Linked DNA regions of Homo sapiens: all the other regions are linked to region 6. Evidence: promoter capture Hi-C in 16 types of primary human blood cells and fetal thymus (Javierre and others, 2016). All regions are on one chromosome and are shown on one strand. The core of a region is centred on a gene start or on the middle of the fragment in contact, and the rest is flanking DNA. Distances in the headings are between cores, read along the strand shown.

The links. Contacts are between HindIII fragments. The CHiCAGO score rates a contact against its expected background, and 5 or more counts as called.
Region 1: a fragment that was not itself captured here is called in contact with the fragment with the promoter of PLAC8L1 in region 6 in 3 of 17 cell types (erythroblasts, megakaryocytes and M0 macrophages); the score reaches 8.4 in erythroblasts.
Region 2: a contact is called between a fragment that was not itself captured here and the fragment with the promoter of PLAC8L1 in region 6, in 2 of 17 cell types (activated CD4 T cells and non-activated CD4 T cells). The highest score is 6.9, in activated CD4 T cells.
Region 3: a contact is called between a fragment that was not itself captured here and the fragment with the promoter of PLAC8L1 in region 6, in 3 of 17 cell types (non-activated CD4 T cells, total B cells and naive CD8 T cells). The highest score is 6.0, in non-activated CD4 T cells.
Region 4: a fragment that was not itself captured here is called in contact with the fragment with the promoter of PLAC8L1 in region 6 in 3 of 17 cell types (naive B cells, activated CD4 T cells and non-activated CD4 T cells); the score reaches 5.7 in naive B cells.
Region 5: a contact is called between a fragment that was not itself captured here and the fragment with the promoter of PLAC8L1 in region 6, in 1 of 17 cell types (erythroblasts). The highest score is 7.5, in erythroblasts.
Region 7: a contact is called between a fragment that was not itself captured here and the fragment with the promoter of PLAC8L1 in region 6, in 7 of 17 cell types (non-activated CD4 T cells, monocytes, activated CD4 T cells and 4 more). The highest score is 7.6, in non-activated CD4 T cells.

What each region holds. Positions count from the first base shown.
Region 1 is chr5:145,682,814-145,685,544 of GRCh38, forward strand. It overlaps a transcript of PRELID2 not described here. Among named protein-coding and RNA genes, the nearest start is that of PRELID2, 150 kb to the right of the region's middle. The HindIII fragment of the contact is 2,395 bases long and covers 55-2,449 here.
Region 2 is chr5:146,487,834-146,490,533 of GRCh38, forward strand. All of the region lies in intron 15 of TCERG1 (transcription elongation regulator 1), which reads left to right. Among named protein-coding and RNA genes, the nearest start is that of GPR151, 27 kb to the right of the region's middle. The HindIII fragment of the contact is 5,317 bases long and covers 1-2,700 here.
Region 3 is chr5:146,528,078-146,530,845 of GRCh38, forward strand. No RefSeq gene overlaps it. Among named protein-coding and RNA genes, the nearest start is that of GPR151, 13 kb to the left of the region's middle. The HindIII fragment of the contact is 4,804 bases long and covers 1-2,768 here.
Region 4 is chr5:146,507,628-146,510,666 of GRCh38, forward strand. TCERG1 (transcription elongation regulator 1) reads left to right here. Exons shown (of 23, transcript NM_001382548.1): 21 at 246-329; 22 at 1,518-1,618; 23 at 2,814-3,039. The coding sequence ends at 3,015. Among named protein-coding and RNA genes, the nearest start is that of GPR151, 7.0 kb to the right of the region's middle. RefSeq lists a silencer at 3,005-3,039. The HindIII fragment of the contact is 1,917 bases long and covers 551-2,467 here.
Region 5 is chr5:145,701,398-145,704,097 of GRCh38, forward strand. It overlaps a transcript of PRELID2 not described here. Among named protein-coding and RNA genes, the nearest start is that of PRELID2, 130 kb to the right of the region's middle. The HindIII fragment of the contact is 9,480 bases long and covers 1-2,700 here.
Region 6 is chr5:146,104,108-146,107,021 of GRCh38, forward strand. PLAC8L1 (PLAC8 like 1) reads right to left here and starts at 1,470. Exons shown (of 4, transcript NM_001029869.3): 1 at 86-1,470. The coding sequence starts at 204. The HindIII fragment of the contact is 7,482 bases long and covers 1-2,914 here.
Region 7 is chr5:146,464,515-146,467,305 of GRCh38, forward strand. The region is part of intron 5 of TCERG1 (transcription elongation regulator 1); the gene reads left to right. Among named protein-coding and RNA genes, the nearest start is that of TCERG1, 19 kb to the left of the region's middle. The HindIII fragment of the contact is 3,016 bases long and covers 1-2,791 here.

The sequences.
Region 1 (2,731 bases), core at 2-2,501, 420 kb before region 6:
CATTTCACCATATGCAAAGGGCTGGCTGGCTTTCACTTGGCATAAAAATCAAGAAGCTTTTCAACACTGCTGGTTCCAAAACTAACATCATCTTCATGATTATAAGCACAGTGTTACATCATGGGACTAGCAGGGGAGGAAGGCATTGAGAAAATAATCACATAATTAATTTATGATTCTAAATTGTAGCTCATGCTCCAAAGGGGAAAAAAGACCAGAGAGCCACAGAGAAAAATACAGAGCATTGTTTATATTGGGTGAAAGCAGTCAGAGAAGACCAGTATTTCTAGGTAGTACAGAACAGTTAAGAACCTAGGTACTGGTGTCAGAAAGATTTAGATTTGAGCCTGAATTTGTCCTTTACTAGCTCTGTGACTTTGACTTTAGGTAAGTCATTTTCTTCTTCAAGCCTGAGTTCTCCCATTTGCAAAATAAGGATAATACCTAGATAGTGACTAAAGATGTAATGATGTGTTCTATACTACCCCTAGAATAGATTCAGCAATCAACAAAACTGTTATTATTGAACATGATAGTCCAAAAAATATCATAACCAGTATACTGGTGTGCTAGGGCTACTGCACCAAATACTACAAACTGGATGGCTTAAATAATAAAACTTTATCTTCTCATAGTTCTGAAGGCTAGAAGTCCAAAACCAAGATGTCAGGATGTTTGGTTTCTTCTGAGGACTCTCTCCTAGACTTTCAGATGGCCACCTTCTCGCTATGTCCTCACATGGCCTCTCCTCTGTGTGCATGCATCCCTAGTATCTCTCTGCATATCTACATTTCCTCTTGTTAAAAGCACACTAGTCACATTGGATTAGGGCCCACCCTAATGCCCTTATTTTGCCTTTATCACTCTTAAAAGGCCTTATCTCCAAATACAGATACTCTCAGATACTGGAGTTTAGGGCTTCAACACATGAATTGTAGGAGAGAGGGAGAACACAGTTCAACCTATAACGACCAGTATGGCATGGAGCTGACCAATCACAAAGGGGGCTGCTTGGTCACTGGCCAGTAGAACGAGCTGCTGATTGTATAGAACAGCAGAGTGCACTGATGCACATTGCTTATTGGTATTATTATTATTACTGAGTTTTAATAGCACTGCCTCTACTCAGGGATATACCAGGTTTGTAAGCAGAGCGACACAAAGTTTTCTAGAGGGGAGATTCCAGGAAGCAAAACAGTCTCCAACAAATGTTAACTTCTACATCCTGCCATGCCTGGAACCGGACAAATACAGAGATGCTTTAGAGCTACCTTGTGAAAAGAGACAAAAGGGGAAGAGCAGGAGGGGGAAGGATAAGAGAGTTAATGGTGACTGAGATTTGAACAAAGACAATGAGGAAGAACATGTATGTAGAGGAGAAAAATGACATGAAAAGAGTCAATAGTCCAGGGGTGAAAGAAGCCTCGATGGGCTGGGCCCTAGCTTTGGTTCTAGTCCAGGCTCAACAAACCAATCTGAACTTTTACGCAATCAGAATAAACTCTTCTTTGTGGACCTCCTTCATGAAATCCTGCTAAAAGAGATTCTTCCTCTTCCTCTCTATCCAAATGGATGCTTTTGTTATCCTGTGTTGTTTCAGACTGTAGGTCGTGGGAGAGAAAGGAAAAAAACCCCACTAAAACCTATCACTCTCTTCTTATTGTTTCCTTGTTCCTCTCTTTGGTTAGCTTTCATTTTGTGCTTGCCCATGTGCAGGCACTGTGCTTCACATTCATGCTTTCATTTAATCCTCATAGTTGTTCTGTTATTATTTCACAGATGAGAAAATATGAGGTTCAGAGATGTTTAGTGACTTGCCAAAGGTCAAACTAAGAGTAAGTGAAGAGCTGGGACTTGAACTTAAATCCATCCCACTTAAAGTCCCTGCTCTTAACCACCATTATCATCCTGTGGCTGTATATTCAGGAAGGAAACACATGGATGAACCAATCCTGGGGGCAGGTAATGACCAGCACCAGCATTTGGAGTACAGATTGTAGTCATGGGTGCTGTTGGCACCACTAAGGCAATAACAGTCATCATGGAGTCTAAGGTCAATGCCAGGATTTGAGGTCACAGCTTTAGGAAAAACTGAAGATGGAAGGAGGCTTCAAAGTCCAGACCAAGGTTGGGGTATAAGACAGATATGAAGAAAGTTGGGCTGTTGGTCTCTGATTTATCTTCCTCCCTCACTGTCCACATCCAATTAATCATCAAGTCTTGTTGCTTCTACTTCCAAAATATTTCTGCCATTCTTCTGCCTGTCCCCATCCTGACTGCCACTATCCCAATACATTGAGAGAATCAGTTAGTCTCTCTGTTTTCAGCTTTGCCCCTAAACCTTTTATTCCACTGCAGTCAGAATTCTTACTCTGAAATATAAATCTAATCCTACCACTTCCCCACTTATGTGGCTTCAGTAGCTTCCCATGGCCTCAAAGGCTTCCAAAGCTTTCAATTACCAAAGCCACCTCTTACCTCCCTGTTTTCACTCTTCCATAAGGCATACTGAACAACTTTCGGTTTCTCTGATGTAATACGCCATGTTCTCTCCAGTCGCTAGGTCTTTGCAAATGTTATTCTTGCTCTCTAGAGCCCAGTTTCTACCCTAATGTTTTCAAGTCTCAGCTTGGACATTGCTTCTTTGCAGAAGCCTTCTCTGGCATAGATAAGAATTTAGAGGACAAACCTAAACCTCATCACATTGAAGTTCCTCCATGACCATTTTTTT
Region 2 (2,700 bases), core at 142-2,641, 380 kb after region 6:
TACCAGACTTCAAAATATGCTAGAGAGCTGTAGTAACTAAAACAGTACGGTACTGGCATAAAAACAGACACATAGACCAAAGGAACAGAATAGGGAACTCAGAAATTAATCCATATATCTATAGGCAACTTATTTTGACAAAGGTGCCAAGAACACTCACTGTGGCAAGAACAGTCTCTTCAATAAATGATGCTGGGAAAACTGGAAATCTATATGCAGAAGAAATGAAATTAGAACCCCACCTCTTAGCCTATCTGAAAATCAACTCAAAATAGATCAAAGACCTACATATATGACCTGAAATGATAAAACTACTAGAAAAAAACCATAGAGGAAATAATTCCAGACATTGACTGGGAAAAGATTTTACAAATAAGACCTCAAAAGCACAAGCAAGAATAAACAAATGGGGTTACATCAAATTAAAACAGTTCTCCATAGCAAGGGAAACAACAGTGAAGACATCCTACAGAATGGGAGAAAATATTTGCTAACTACTTATTTGATAGGGAATTAAATGTCCAAAATGTACAAGGAACTCAGTCATCCCAACAGAAAAAAACAGATCTTACTAACAAATGGGCAGATGATCTGAACAGACATTTCTCAAAACATACAAATGGCCAATAAATATATGAAAAAATGCTCAACATCACTAATCATTGGGGAAATGCAAATCAAAACAGCAGTGAGGTGTCTCACTCAGTTAGGATGACTTACATAAAAGAGGAAGAAATAACGAATACTGGCAAGGATACTCAGAAAAGGGAACTCTTTATATACTGTTGGTTAGAATTTAAACTAGTATATCCACTATGGAAAACAGTATGGAGGTTCCTCGAAAAACTAAAAACAGAACAACGATATGATCCAGCAATCCCCCTATCAGGTATGTATTGAAAGGAAAAGACATCATTATATTGAAGAGATATCTGTACCCTAATGTTTACTGTAGCACTGTTCACAGTAACCAAGATACAGAATCAACCTAGGTGTCCAACAACAGATGACTGGATAAAGAAAATGTGGTTAGCCATAAAAAAGAATGAAATCCTGTCATTTGCAGCAACATCGATGGAACTGGAAGTCATGTTAAGTGAAATAAGCCAAGAACAGAAAGATAAACATCTTATGTTTTCACACATGTGGAAGCAAAAGAAAGTTGATGTCATAGAAGTCAAAAGTAGAACAGAGGCTACTGAAGGCTGAGAGGGGTAGGGAGAACTTGGGAGGATAGGAAGAGATTTGTTAAAGGATACATAATTAAAACTGGATAGGAAGATTAAGTCCTGGCGTTGTGTAGCCCTGTAGGATGACTGGTTAACAATAGTAAGTAGTTTCGAGTAGCCAGAAGGAGGATATTAAACGTTTTTCCAACACAAATGATAAATGTTTGAGATTGATATGCTAATTACCTTGATCTCATCACTACATGATATGTATTTAAACACATTTCGATTGCACATGTATTGAAACACAGTAACCCCATGAATATGTACAATTATTATTTGTCAATTAAAAAAATCCCTGCCCTTGAACTCTAAGAGAAAACACCAAAATAAACTTTTAAATATCTCATTTGTTATTCAGAGCTTTTTAATATTGACAGTATTACAGTATGGTAATATGTTACCAACATGATTACTCGGAATTGTCAACCATCTGGGCCACTGTTACTGAATAATTTGTCATTGAATCAGTGTGAAATTAAAAATATGAGAATCAAATAATGGAGACTTACTTTTAGTAAATGTATTTTGAAACAGAAAAGATAAAATCATAAGTGAAATTTCACAAAATGAATATATCATGATCCAAAAAATGGAACATTCCAAGCACTCCAGAGCTGCCTTGAAGGCTTAAAGGGTATAGCCCCTTAATATACATTTTTGTTCATGCCTATAAAAGTGAACTTAACAGAATTATTTTTAAAATTTACTCATTTTCATTGTATTATGAAATTTTGTTCATGAGTTGAAGTTATCAGAAAATAACCACTTAACATAGGGAACATAAAGCCAAGCGTATTGGAAAGCATGACACAAATTAGGAGCAACTTGGAAGCATAACACAACCCCTAATTTTCTATGAGATATTAATCTTAGAGAGTGATTCCTAACCTTGGTCTGGGGTAGCCCAGCAGAGGGAATACGAAGTTCTTTCTAGATTCTCAAAGGAAAGTTAATACAAATTCCCTTGAATTTTAGGTATCATTTAATATTTTATTTATAAGTAAGTATATACTGAGAAGGGAGTTGGAAACAACTTTCTCCCTCTCTTCAGCATGCAAATACTTTCAAAAGGTTTTCTGCAATGCTATACTTAGAGGAAATTGAAGATGACTTACATGTCTAGCAGGGGACTGGTCAGGTAATCACAGATATGGTAGTCCCTCCTTATCTGTGGAGGATATGTTCCAAGACACCCAGTGGATGAAGATTGGTAGACATATGTGGATTGACTTGGGAAGATGTCGAAGGTATTTTGGAACATTTTGTTGTACTTGTTATAAAGATGTTCATAGAGCTGTTCCCTACATAGTAAGTCTTTTCCTTTTTGTAGCTTCTTGAGAGAATGTGCAGGGAAAGTTTATTTGAGGCCTAACATACTTGGAAAAACCCTTATTGTACCCTTATTTGGAATTGTTTGGCTAGCTAAAGGCATTGCTCTGCTTCTAGTGTTCGTTGTTTTTGAAGCCAT
Region 3 (2,768 bases), core at 243-2,742, 420 kb after region 6:
GCAATGGAAGTCTGAGGTATGGCTCACGAAGAGTTCATAATCTATACAGGTAAAAGGAAGCCATTGATTGTACGAGGTAGTGTAGTTGAAGATGTCTGCAAACTTTCAAGTGTCAGACATATGCATAATTAATGACTGCCAATGTTTTGTGCATTTGCAAGGAATATGACAATTATCATGAATAAAACGAGGGATCCATTCAGCCCCAAATCCTCATTAGTGCTCATACAGTATGTATAACTTTGCATTCTCATTTATTTGTATTTTCCTCATTTCTAGTCATTTAAAATAATATGTTCATGTAATTGCACAATTCCACAGCTCTACTGAGATGCTGCTGCCGAGTCTGAACCGTTGATTAGTGGGCACTGCCCCCTTGTGATAACTGAAAATGCTGATTGTTCAGCTGATGGAGAAAAACTGAATTTGGTGTTCGGAGGGCAGTTTGTGGTCACAGTGAGTAGCATATAAAAGTAGAGGTTGAGAGAAAGCTAGGGACTGTAATTGAATGGGACATGGATGGAGCTATTGAAAAATATTTTTCCTGTAATCCCAGCACTTTGGGAGGCTGAGGTGGGTGGATCATGAGATCAGGAGATCGAGACCATCCTGGCTAACACGGTCAAACCCCTTCTCTACTAAAAATACAAAAAATTAGTCAGGCATGGTGGCGGGTGCCTGTAGTCCCAGCTACTCGGGAGGCTGAGGCAGGAGAATGGTGTGAACCTGGGAGTGAGCCAAGATAGCGCCACTGCACTCCAGCCTGGGCGGCAGAGCGAGACTCCATCTCAAAAAAAAAAAAAAAATGGAAAATATTTTTAATTAGCATAAGCATATTTGAGTATTATAGGCAGAGGAAAATGAACACATAGATAAAAAATGATTCAGGATGTCTGTGAGAGAGGAGGTGTACAACCCTCTCCTAAATTGTGGTTTCAGAACCAGTGGCGTCCGCACTGCTTGGACACTTGTTAGAAATGCAGAATCCCAGGCCCCACCCAAGACCTCCTGAATCAGAATCTGAATTTCACAAAAACTTCAGCCGATTCATCTCCCTGGCAAAGTGTGAGATTCTCTGGTGCACAGCAGAGCGGAAGTGTTTGGCACATGGACCTTAGACTTATTGGGTTGGAATCCCAGCTCTGCCACTGACTAGAGTGTGGGAATTTACACACTCTATTTGGGAAGTTACATTTTTGGGCCTCAGTTTCCTCAGCTACAAGTGAGGAATGATATTAATACATTTCTCATGGGATTCTTGTAAGGCCACCATCACCACTGCCATCACCATCATTGCTAATGTTTAATGAGGGTTTACCACATTTCAGGCAATGCTGAAGCACCGTTCATGAATTCATTAGTGAGATCACGAAGGATAAACACCTGCCAAATGGTACGCGCTCATCAACTGTTAAAAACTGACATTTTTGAAACAGACAGGAGACAGGCGAATACTGGGTAGAAGAGGGCAGTTCCCTGGCAAACACCTCACTCTCAAGCATGGAAACCTGCAACCTTAATGGGAACAGGCATTCCTGATTTTGTGCCCAAAAGTTGCCTTTTGGCCTGCCACACCCCACCCCATCCTGTACCCATATAAACCCCAAACTCCAGGCTCCACAAGCAGATGAGGAGATGAACAGGGGAATGGCAGAACAGCGTGCAAGAGAAAAGAGAAGGAATGTCTGAACACTGAGAGGAGTTTGGCCGGGGACGGTCAGAGAGGAGATCAGCCGCTGGATGGCCAAACGTCAGGGGAAGATCATCTTCCCACTCCATCCCCCTTCCAGTTCCCCATCCATCCCAATGAGAGCCACCTTCACCATTCAGTAAAACTTCCACATTCATCCTGCAAGTCCATGTGCGACCTGATTCTTCCTGGATGCCAGACAAGGACCTGGGTACCAAGAGGCACTGAGCTGTTTAACACTTAAGCCGTCCATGGATGGCAAGGCTAAACTGTAACAAAAGCCAGGCCCACTTGGGCTTTGGGAGTTGCAGTCACCCACCCCTAGATGCTACCATGGGGCCAGAGCCCAGGGGCACTCACTCTGGCTCCTGCACCTGCCGATCTGTGTGCTTCCCCTCCTGTAAGGGATTTGAGCCCACAAGCCACACCCCTGTCACATGTCCTGCAAGAGGGGTTGGGGAGTTCTCCTGTTTCACTTTTGGTTATTATAATCACTATAAAGCATGGTGTTTGAGCAAGTATATTGGAATGGACTATCTCAACTGAAGAACTAAAGACTGTGGCTTTGGCAAGTGGAGGCAGGATATTGAGGCCTGCTGGGAGTAGTAGTTTGGAGGGCTGAATTCTGAACCCCGGACCCACTATTTGGATTATTGATTATCGCAGAAAGGATGCTTTCTAATGAAATCAATTTTCAGAGAGCTTGCATAATCTAGAAAAGAACAAGAAAAACTGTTTAAAATTGTGGTTCTCAAATATTTTGGCCTTTGGACCCCTTTACACTCTTAAAAATTATTGAGGATCCCAAAGAGCTTTTGTTTATGTGAGTTATATGTATTAATATTTACCTTATTAGAACCTAAAGCTGAGGAAAATTTAAAATATTAACTGATTTTAAAACAATAGTATCCAACCCATTACATGTTAATATAAGTAATACTTTCATTAGAAAGAACTACACTTCCTAAAACAAAAACATTTAGTAAGAAGAGTGAAATTGTTTTATGTTTTTGCAGATCTCATTAACATCTGGCTTGACAGAATGGAGCTAGATTCTCTTATCTGCTTTTGCATTCAA
Region 4 (3,039 bases), core at 259-2,758, 400 kb after region 6:
TACAGGGTTTGCAGGTGATTGTCTTAGGCCACCTTGAAAGTATGGCCATGAAAATAACTCTTGTGGCAAGCCAACAAAAAGAAATTGCATTAACGCTGCTTCCCTGTCCCTAACTAGTCCAGTTACGCTTGGGCATTACAAGAGATCGCAGGTCAGTGTGTAATATTATGTACCTATGTGCTGCAGTTTGACTCCCTAAGTAAAAGTGAGTTGTATTTATGTTTTTTATTCATGTCTTTTCAAAGATTACCTTAACATCCACGTGGAAAGAAGTAAAAAAAATCATTAAGGAAGATCCTCGATGTATTAAGTTCTCCTCCAGTGACAGGGTAAGAGGATTTTGTGTCGAGATTTACTGTCAGTCTATAAATACTTAAATCGGGGCCTAACAGCACTACTATCTTAACCAAAATGAAGTTGATTGTTTTAAGTGAATTACTTTTAAGTGTATGAGAAGTAAATCTGAATTTTAAGTTTATGTATTGTTTCTTGCATGATAAATTAGCAAGACAGCACAATAGAAAGTTTAAAATTTTAGTACTTGGGGTGAAGCTTGTATTTTAGGATCTTAGAAATTTAATGAAGCTGCAGTTTTATTTTAGTCAGGTACCACTAGACAGACATATTTAGGCTGGCAATTGGTACCAAACTATCAAAGCACTTGACTCTTAAGCCAAACAGAGCCCTGTAATGAGATCGCTAGTTCTCATATGCTTCAAGGTCTGAAACAGTGAATGATGTCAAGAAAAGTGTTGTTTACTACAGTCCATTTTATCCCTAGGCCTTTTATTTGTTTTCTTTTACATCATTCCCCTTTCCTGGTTGGTTTCTGTAGGTCTGGGCATCTTTTATAAAAACTCATAAATCTAATATTCTTCCCCCTCAAAGTCTATTGGATTGTAGATGTTTGGACCATAAAATATGCATGACTGGGAAAGAGGGGTAGACCCAGTCTCAGTTTCTAACTTTTCTGACTGTTTAGAATTGATAATAAAGTCTTTTTTAAGTCCAAAGAGTTTATTCATCTTATTACTTTTGGCTTGCCAGAAAGCTAAATGCTCATTACTGTGTAAGTTAAGTATTGAGTGTTAACCTACAGTTGCTGTATCCACAAATTACTCTTTTTGTTCTTGAAGTTAAAAATACAGTGTGCAGGAAGTGAACACTTAATCCTTAATATCCTTATTTTTAAGTGTCCACCTCATGAGGTTGTTGTGAAGATTGAAGTAGATGATCCTCATAAAATGCTCAGCAGTGTAGCACATAGCAAGTTCTCAAGTTTTAGCCACTACTAATTTATGATTCCTCATTCTTTCTATTTGCCGCAAAAATGAGCCTTGCAAATTGTGATTTAATGAATTTTATATATGAACAAAATGTACCCTGTTGCCTTTTTCTTTTGAATTTTAAATTTTATTATGTGACTTACACATTACTGTTTAATAAATAATTGATGTTTATTTTGGAATTAGTGGGTTTTATTTCCATAATCTCAACTTTTTTTTTTTTATTAACAGAAAAAACAAAGAGAATTTGAAGAATATATCAGAGACAAATATATCACAGCCAAAGCTGACTTCAGGACGCTTTTGAAAGAGACCAAATTTATAACATATAGGTGTGTGCAATGAAATGTTTCATATTGGCAGTCATTCTCTTTACTAGTCTTTACTCTAATGGTCAGAGCATTCTTTGCATTCACACACATGTTGACATTATTAATTTTTAGGGATAAGAAGATACCAACTTCTGTCCAAAGTCAAATACAGCCCATATCTACCATACTTTTTTTTTTTTTTAAAGAAAGGGCCCAGATGTCAATTCTTATTTTGTGTTACCCACCCATCCAGTTTTGAATACATACCTTTTTTTTTTTTTTACTTCACCGCTTTTTTTAGGAATACCCTCAACTATATAAGAATTGTATTTCATGAAGAGACTTTTAAAATAATCTTTCACTATCAGTTATCTTTGCCTCCTCTGAAGACTATTCAGTGTGGTTAGATCATTCTAAAGCATGAAATCATCTATTTAAGCTCAGCATAAACATTTTTTTTTCCCTCAGAGGAAAGCATTTTGCTGGGTACATTTAAATAAAAATTGTAAATTATGAAATCAGAGCCTTTAAACAAGATTTCTCTGTAGCAAACCCAACAGTTCTTCACCCCTAACAATTTATCATCAGGAAAACAATTTCGCATTGCTTACCAGTCAGTATGCAGGAAACCATTTTTGTTTCATGCTCCAGCTTTTCTTCTTTAAGAGAGAAATTTGAAACATCTTAATAAAGGGTATGTGCACGGGAGGCTAGATAGTGCTGAGGGTGTGGTTTTTAGATATTTTGTCATTTGGATTTTTTGGTCAGGATCCTTAATGTTTTGCATCAGCTTGGGCTTTTAAATTAGATGTGAAGTAAGACTTCTTTCTACATTTTTATAGTTAATTTAGTGAAAGATGTGAAAGTGAAAGCTTGTGAAAGATGCTGGGATTGGCAGCCCCGCAGACTGAAGTCCTCTGTTCATCCACAGAACAGGTACAGCACGGGCAAGATTTACCCACCCACCCTCAGCCCTGATCTGGAGGGACCACCACTAGGGGTGGGAGGGTAATTCAGCTTCTGAGGCCCTTTCACTCCTTGGAGTCTTTGCTGAGGCGACTTACAAAGGTGACCACTGCCGTGAAATTTTTCTTAAAAAAAAAAAAAAAAAAAAAAATGGAAACACAATTAGGAACTAGATGGACATTTCCAGCTCATTTCTGAAAGACCTGTGAACAGCAGTCAGTAATTCTTGGACTTCTTTTTCTTATTTCAGATCCAAAAAATTAATCCAAGAATCAGATCAGCACCTGAAAGATGTAGAAAAAATTTTACAGAATGACAAACGGTATCTAGTACTGGACTGTGTGCCAGAGGAGAGGCGTAAACTGATTGTGGCATATGTTGATGACCTGGATCGCCGGGGTCCACCCCCACCTCCCACAGCATCGGAGCCCACGAGACGATCAACAAAATAATTCTAAATACTCTTCCATAGGGGC
Region 5 (2,700 bases), core at 41-2,540, 400 kb before region 6:
AAATCTAGAAAAAAATTAATGTAATTGCTTAGTTCAGCAGAAGCTGAAAAAGGCCTCAGGACCCTGAACAATAGTATTGATTTTAAAAAGAAATTCTCTATTTTTTGAGAATGCAAGTCTCCTAATGACTATCGACCAACAAATGAGCAAAGAGGTTGGTGGAGGAGTTTGATGTAATTCCCTGTGTCAAACCACAAGGTGTCACTTAGCATTTGACAACTATGCCATCAACAAATCACAGCAACAATTTCTAAAAATCAATAAATGACCTGTAAATCATTATCTTTTTAATGAACTATGTGCATTTCAGCTTGTATCACTTGGTAAGCAGTTTAATAATTTAGATTAGAGAATTATAAAATATACATTGAAGGCCGGGCGCAGTGGCTCACCCCTGTAATCCCAGCACTTTGGGAGGCCAAGGTGGGCAGATCACCTGAGGTCAGGAGTTCAAGACCAGCCTGACCAATGTGGTGAAACCCTGTCTCTACTAAAAATACAAAATTAGCCGGGCGTGGTGGCACATGCCTGTAATCCCAGGTACTCGGGAGGCCAAGACAGGAGAAATGCTTAAACCTGGGAGGTGGAGGTTGTGGTGAGCTGAGATCATGCCATTGCACTCCAGTCTGGGCAATGAGCAAAACTCTGTCTCAGGAAAAAAAAAAATATATATATACACACACACACATATATATATATTTAATGTTTTTATTAATATATTGATTTATACATTAGCGTATTACTGTAATGCTTAAGTATTTTTAATGCCATCCCTATAAACACTTATAAAAAGGATATTTTCATAAGTATGTATGAGAGTGAGCTAGCAAATTTATGATCATCTGAGTATGGTGTTCAAGCACCACTACTTTGCACAAAACAGCCCTTCAAATCTAGTCATCACACAGACCACTCCTTGTCTCATCTGTGTCTGAAGGTAGAATCATGCACAGAGAAATAGGACATCAAGATAAAAGTAAAGGAACTATAGTAGATGGGTTAAATGTGTTTTTCTTTTCTCTGTTTCTTTTTTCTTATTTTGGCTCTTGGATCCCTCCTTGGGGAAATCAACAATTCCCTACTTCATGTGGTCCTTGCAAAATGCATCAGGATGCTTTCTTTGACATAAATTAAGAAAGAAAGAAAAAAACTCTGACAGCTAGCTTAAAATCTCACACAAGAAGGCAAGAGGTAAAGCAATTCAATGACATTCGGGTCTTCTGTTCTCTAACTAGTTAAGAAACTTGCCTGAAGCACCCCCATGCCCAGCAGACTTCCAATTCATGTTTTGTGTCAATTGGCCAAAATGAGGTCACAAAAATTTGGCTGCTTCTAAACCAAGAAGCACATAGGGAAAGGAATTATCTTAAGTGATACAGACTAATCAAGACTCCCTACCTACCAGGGCACCCCTAATAAAACTTCAGCAGCCAAAAGTCAGAGAAGATACCACTTCTATGTGGGCTTGAGTTCCACAATCACTAGAAAAAAATGTTAAAGGTAGATCTTAAGGAGGAAAGAAAGTCATTTAGCAGATTGATATATAATTATTTCCCTTTCTATTAAAACACAGCAAATACTATCAAATAAAGCAATTACTCAACTCTCAACCCTAACAAAAATGCACACTAGACATGCAAACAGAAAGCTGGGTCCAAGTTGGAAGCTAGATTCACCATTTACTGGTCTGTGCAGCACCCATTGGCCATCAAGTGTCAAGTATACTAAGTCTTTGGAAGAAGCCAGACAAATTACCAAGCAAACACAATCTATTCAGAGCAGAGAGTTAGTAATATTAATTGTATCAGATAGGAATTTTTATGCAAAGTGTTTAAAACTCAGCTGAAATGCCTTAAGCAATTGATCCAGAGTCAGAGTGGGCTTTAAGTGAACTTCGTTGATTCAGCAGTTTAGACATTATTACCAAATACCCTTGATGTCTCATCTTCCTTCTGTCTCTTAGCTCTCCCTTCCATAGGGATTGTTCCATCATCAGATTCCATGTGGTAGACATGCCCCAAATACACACAGTAGCTTCAGCTTTACTCTTATGACAACCAAATAGCTGCCCCAGTTTCAAGCCACACATGCTAACCCTAAATGCTCCAGGGAAAAGAAAATGTCAGTTCCAACAGCACATAGCCAGGTCTTGGGATCCCTTTCATTGTCTTGAAATGGGACATTTGACTAAACCCAAACTAATAACTGCAGCTAGGGAAAGAAGATATAAATTGGCTTAGGTCCATTACAGTCTAATCCTTGAACTTTGTGACAGATCAACTCCACACCAAAATCATATAGAAAAGAGAGATGTTCAAGATATAGTTAGAGGGAGAAAGGGAGAAGACAGGAATGGGTACTGGAGCATCACACAACAAATTTCCCCTGCACCTGTCCTCCACACCTGAGTGCATAAAGAACTCTTCCCAGCAAGTCTCAAATTTTCAGGTCTCTTTCACAGCTACGTTTTACAAAATCACAAGACTCATTTTACTCATGCAACTTAGAGAGAAAATAAATCCATAAAGTCATGGCATATTTTATTCAACAACTGCCCCAGAATTAGAGTCACAGTACCTGAGGTGTCTTCCTCAGTTGGTTCAGAAGCAGGTTTTGTGGTTAAAGTTCTCCCTGATGAAACATCATTTCAAGGGGGTTTCTGGATGTGAGCTCACTGGGCTGTAACCATTGCTAATCGAG
Region 6 (2,914 bases), core at 220-2,719:
TTCCCTGGTTCCTTATAAGTAGAGGTTGATTCGATAGTCCAACTAAAGAGCAAAAGCTAGGGGAAAAACTCACCCTATTCCCTACCTCAAGTTGGAAATAAAATGTTCATCTTCAGATGACATGTGTGACAACAGAGGTGAGTATATGTTGAGTAAGGAAAGATCCTCAGGACACCTGAAGAAGTTACTTCCAAACCAATTCATAGTGAGAAGTGTTTTCTTGTCCTTTGGGCTATCCTTTTTCCCTTTGGCAATAAGCTGGTTTCTAAACTTCGGATTAGTCCAAAGTGAAACATCTCTTGAAAGAATGTTCCCTTAATATTCTGGAACCTGAGGTCATAGCAGTGTAACTAACAGACATCTTTTTTCTTTAAAAACAGGTATACACCTAACTGTGGACACATTCATCTTACTAATCTGTAGGGAGATATTGCTGGAGTATAGAGTAAATAGAAGAAAAAGACTTATCTTTGGTGGAAAACTCTTTAAGAGATGCCTCTAGTAAACATTTATCTAGCTAAGTGCCACTTGACCGTTCCTTGGAAGATTCAGAAGGCTGAAAATTTCTGCCATGCCATGTGACTGAGAAGCAGCAGAGACCTCTCTTCATCCCCTGAACTGCTGGTCCAATTCAGCCAGATGATGCAAGTCCCATAGCCAACCCAAAAGCAGGAGCAAAAAAAAGTCTTTCAGCGCAGGTATTGTATTTGAATCCATCTTATGAAAGGTGGTCTCCTCAAGTTTGAGCTATGGTAGATTGTCACAAGCCTCAAAGCCTTTTCAGAACTTCTAGAAATTCTCTGCTCTTCCATTAACTTCATTGATAATGCCAGGAAAGTGGCATTTCTTTCCTACCCAGTCCAGACGGAATCTAGTAACTGAAGCAAGGCTTGCCTGGTGATGTCCTCACAACAGCTCTGAATCCTCAAGGTCTCAGGAGCCTCTGAATCATGCCTCTGGCACATGTCTTATGGAGGTGTGGACCCTAGAAATATTAGGAAATATCCTAAGACAAAAAATTAGGCAAAATTTCACGTTGAGGAAAGGGCTCTGCAATCATAATTTGACATTACATTAGAAAGACATCAGGAGGATACTGCCAATTATATCATATATTCTTTTCATCAGACCCATAGAGAATGGTTGCTTAGGGTTCTGAACTTCAAAGCATTTATTGAACCAGGTTGTTAGGAAAAGCCTATAATACCTTCCAAATCAAGATTCCTCAGACATAGCTTCATAACTGCCTTCAATCATGGGGTTCTGGGCAACTGTCATTGTCTTCTTAACAGTAAGGATGTACCCTACATTAAGGACAGGTATGTTTTTTCTGCTTACTACTCTATTCCAAGTGCTGACCACAGTGTCTGGCACATAAAAAGCACTCAATAATTTGTTGAATAAATGTGCCCTACATGAAAATTCAGGTTTATAAGAATAACAGAAATTAAGAGGTGATTACTAGCTTTGCAAAAAAAAAAAAAAAAAAAAAAAAAGATTTACAGTAAGATTCCTTTGAAGAGTAAACCACCATGGTACATATAAGCTATGACTCCATATTTTTACATTTCATTTGCGCCCAACTTTTCTAATCAAACGTCTATTGTATGAAGTGACTAATCCACATGCTACACAGCTTTTTCATTTAAAAATAAAATGAAAAGAATAGAAAAGGCATGTGCTTTATAAAAGAATGCCAAATATTTATGAAAAAGAAATAATAGCATTAGAATATCACCATTTTGCATAGCCCCAGCATAACAACATATCAGGAAGGAAATTCAGAAGCATTAAAACCATTAGATAAAAAAGATTAGGAACCAAATATTCTCAAGGTGCAAAAATATAACTATTCCACATATTTCTAATTGCAAAAGAGAAAATGTACCTTAACTATGAAAAATTCCAGAAGTACTCAAAATGCATATTTACATTGGAAAGTTCTGAAAGTGTAAGAAAAAAAAAGTACCCTTACAATAAAAGCTCTGGGTGTGATTTTAACAAATATGCCTTTACATCAGAAGGTCCTAGAAGTGATCAAAATGTATCTTTAACATTACCCTTCACCCTTCCTCCATGATTGTAGGTTCCTGAGGCCTCCCCAGCCATGCCTCCTGTATAGCCTGTGGAACTGAGTCAATTAAAACTCTTTTTTAAATAAATTACCCAGTCTCAGGTAGTTTTTTATAGCAGTATAAAAACACACTAGGCCAGATGCAGTGGCTCACACCTGTAATCCCAGCACTTTGGGAGGCTGAGACGGGCAGATCATCTGAGGTCAGGAGTTTCAGACCAGCCTGGCCAACGTGGTGAAACCCCATCTCTACTTAAAAATACAAAAATTAGCCAGGCGTGGTGGCAGGCACTGTAATCCCAGCTACTCAGGAGGCTGAGGCAAGAGGATCGCTTGAACCTGGAAGGCAGAGGTTGCAGTGAGCCAAGATCATTCGACTGCACTCCAGTCTAGATGACAGAGCAAGATTCTGTCTCAAAAAAAAAAAAAAGAAAAAGAAAAGAAAACACACTAATACAAGCTCTATGCACAGCAGAGGGCCATTACAAATCTTATTGATGCTGTAAATTTTGGGGTGAAGTATTTTCTACCTGACTGGGGTCCATATAAACTTCTCCTTTCTCTGACCTCCTAATGGCCCTGGTAACACTGGCCTTGGTCAAATACATTCCTGTTTTCCATGCACGAATTCTTTGTTGTCTAAGTGCAATGAAGATGGAGGCCAGGGCTCTAATTCAACTCTGCTGCTAATACATAGGATCTTGAGCCAGTGACTTTGACCTGTTTCTTCATGTGGCTTCCTTGCTATTCCTTCAGCACACCAGCTACATGCCCCTGCCTCAGGGCAAAAAATGCTTTTGACCACATACGTGCTAACAAAACTACATATGCATTTACCCT
Region 7 (2,791 bases), core at 71-2,570, 360 kb after region 6:
AACTAGAGAAAGAATTAAGAAATATTGTGGAGTGGAATTCTTACCATAGGGTTTAAAAATGATAGTGTTGGGCATTCCAAATTTGAATGCATTAGTTTTTGTCAAACACATTTAATCCTTGATCCATGGTTCATTCTCCTTGTGTTATAGTTGAAAGTATTGGTACCTTAGAGAGGTCAGGTTCACAGGGCTAGTTTGTAGCAAAGATGAATAGAACTTAGGCCTCTTGTCTCTCAAGTTCACATTCCATCCACTTATTGCTACTTTCTTATACTCCTTTCTGTGTAAGAATACAGTTGTGATACAGCTATTTCTTAGATTTGCACACATCTTAATTATCACTATTGCACTGGTTGTCTTTTTCTTTGTGACCACTCTGAAAAGGACACCTTCAGATATACCTTGTCAAGAAAGAAACCAAAAATTTCAGGTTTTTTTTTTAATTTGGAAAACCTTGTATACATTGTTGATGTAGTGTTAGATAATTAAATGCCCATTATGTGGTGTTTAAGAAATTCAAATCATTTAAAAAGAAAACAAAAGATGTTTTCCCTACTATTAGGGATTATCCCTTTTCTAGATTAAATTTAAGACAAGCAGCTGGATACTTTTCTCTATGTGTAATTTTTCTGGGAAAACTAAATCATAGATGGAGAATAGCCTGATATTTGTCACAACCTCTTTTTGTAATTTTGGTCTGCTTTAGGGTTAAGGACAGTATTAAGACCAGATCGTGGATTCTGAGTGATCTCAAGGAGTTGGGGTTGCTCATTTTGTAGAGGGAAGATTGAGAGGTAGCATGATAATGTTGTTGAAGTATTTTGAAAGGCTGTCATTTGAACAACTTTTGCTTTTCTTTAGAGGTTCTTATTAGGACTAATGGATGAAAGGTACACAATAGCAAAATGTATTTCTATAGAAAGTAGAAGTTTCTCACAATAAAATCCCTCTGGCTCTAGCTTCATTTTGATGTCATATTTTCCCCAAAATATGATGACATATTTTGATGTCATATGGAGCAAGCATATCCTTGCTCCATCATTAAAAAGATTTGGACAGGTGGTGGTGACCATTTGAGTCACCAAATGAAGCAGTACCTGTGAAGTTTGGCAGTAGAAGTCATTCAATAAACAGTAGCCATTAGTGACATTTTGGGGGTCAGTTGGAAGAGAACTTGAATTGGATAGTCTAAGATTTCTTTGGAGAGAGTGAGTGTCATACAAAGTGATATATTAGGCTGGGCACGGTGGCTTACGCCTGTAATCCCAGCACTTTGGGAGGCCGAGGTGGGTGGATCAGCTGAGGTCAGGAGTTCGAGACTAGCCTCAACATGGAGAAACCCCATCTCTACTAAAAATACAAAATTAGCCGGGCGTGGTGGTGCATGCCCAGCTACTCGGGAGGCTGAGGCAGGAGAATTTCTTGAACCTGGGAGGTGGAGGTTGCAGTGAGCCGAGATCGCGCCATTGCACTGCAGCCTGGGCAACAAGAGCGAAACTCTGTCTCAAAAAAAAAAAAAAAAAAGATATATTAGCATCAAATATTAGTTTGTTTATTAAGACTTTTTGGTATTGATATTTGTTCACTTTTCTCATTTTCCCTTTTAACTCAGTCCTACAAGGTGTTTAGTAAAAAACAAGGACAAAGAAGACTTGTTTTTTTCTTCCCCAAATCTTTGGTTTTACAAACAATGAGATTTGTGTCTCCTGGTTTTTGCCTTTTAATTCAATTCAGCAATAAGGTGAATGGGAAGGATTTGTATGTAATTTGTCTTGGAGGCTTAATTTCTCTTTGAAATAGTATTGTATGGGTCTAATGAGGATGATTGAGGAACGGATGGTCAAACAAGATAAAGGGAAGGAGTGGAAGAATTAGGTAAAATACAAGAGTAGGGGGTGGAGTTTGGATAAATGGGTCTAGGATTATAGGAGTTCTACTTCTAAAACTATAAAATCTTATCTGGAATTTTAAGAAACTTAACTGTCTGTGACATTGGAATCATCCAAAATGCTGAGTGGAATTTTCTTATTTCTTAGATAATAATTTGAGGACAGAGTTGTAGGAAAATTGAACAAAAGCTCCCTCTAAAAAAAAAGGTTAAAAATTTAGATTTTTATTTTGCGAGTATTCACAATCTGCATGTAATCACTTTGAGAGAAACTTCAGTGTATCTTTTTAGCATGAGAAGAAACACAGGACCTTTCTATATGGTCTGTATGTTGATAGTCAAATAGAAGAGTTCTGCGAGCCCAACTGATTTTTAATAATGGTGGTTAAGCCTATGTATGAATAGATTTGATTTTCTTCTGCATAAGTTGTATAGTTAAAATTATTTATTGGAAGATGGTTTTGGAGAACAGTCTTTGAGAGTAAAGTTCGTATATTCATAAGAATTGAATTTCCTGTGCTGAGTTTAGTAGGTTCAGTGCTCCTGCAGATGGCAGTATTTATACTGATTAAACTTAATCCATGCTGTAACTTCCTTAACCAAATGAATTTTTCCATTGCTTTCTTTCAACATTAGGGAAAATAAAATTATACATATAACTTTATTCAACATGCTTTCATGATCCAATGTTTTTATTTTAGTTTAAAAGTTAATAGAAAGTTTACTTTATTCTTTATATAAAATAGTAATTAAGAAATAAAGGTACTTTTCAATAATTGACACTATTTTTGTTTGCTTGTGTGAACATAGTTAAATTGTATACAAACCCAGGAGTTTAATTTTACTTTTAGTCTCAGAGGTAGGAGAAATTTTTTTCCTGTCCTTTAGTGGGGAAAATAGTTT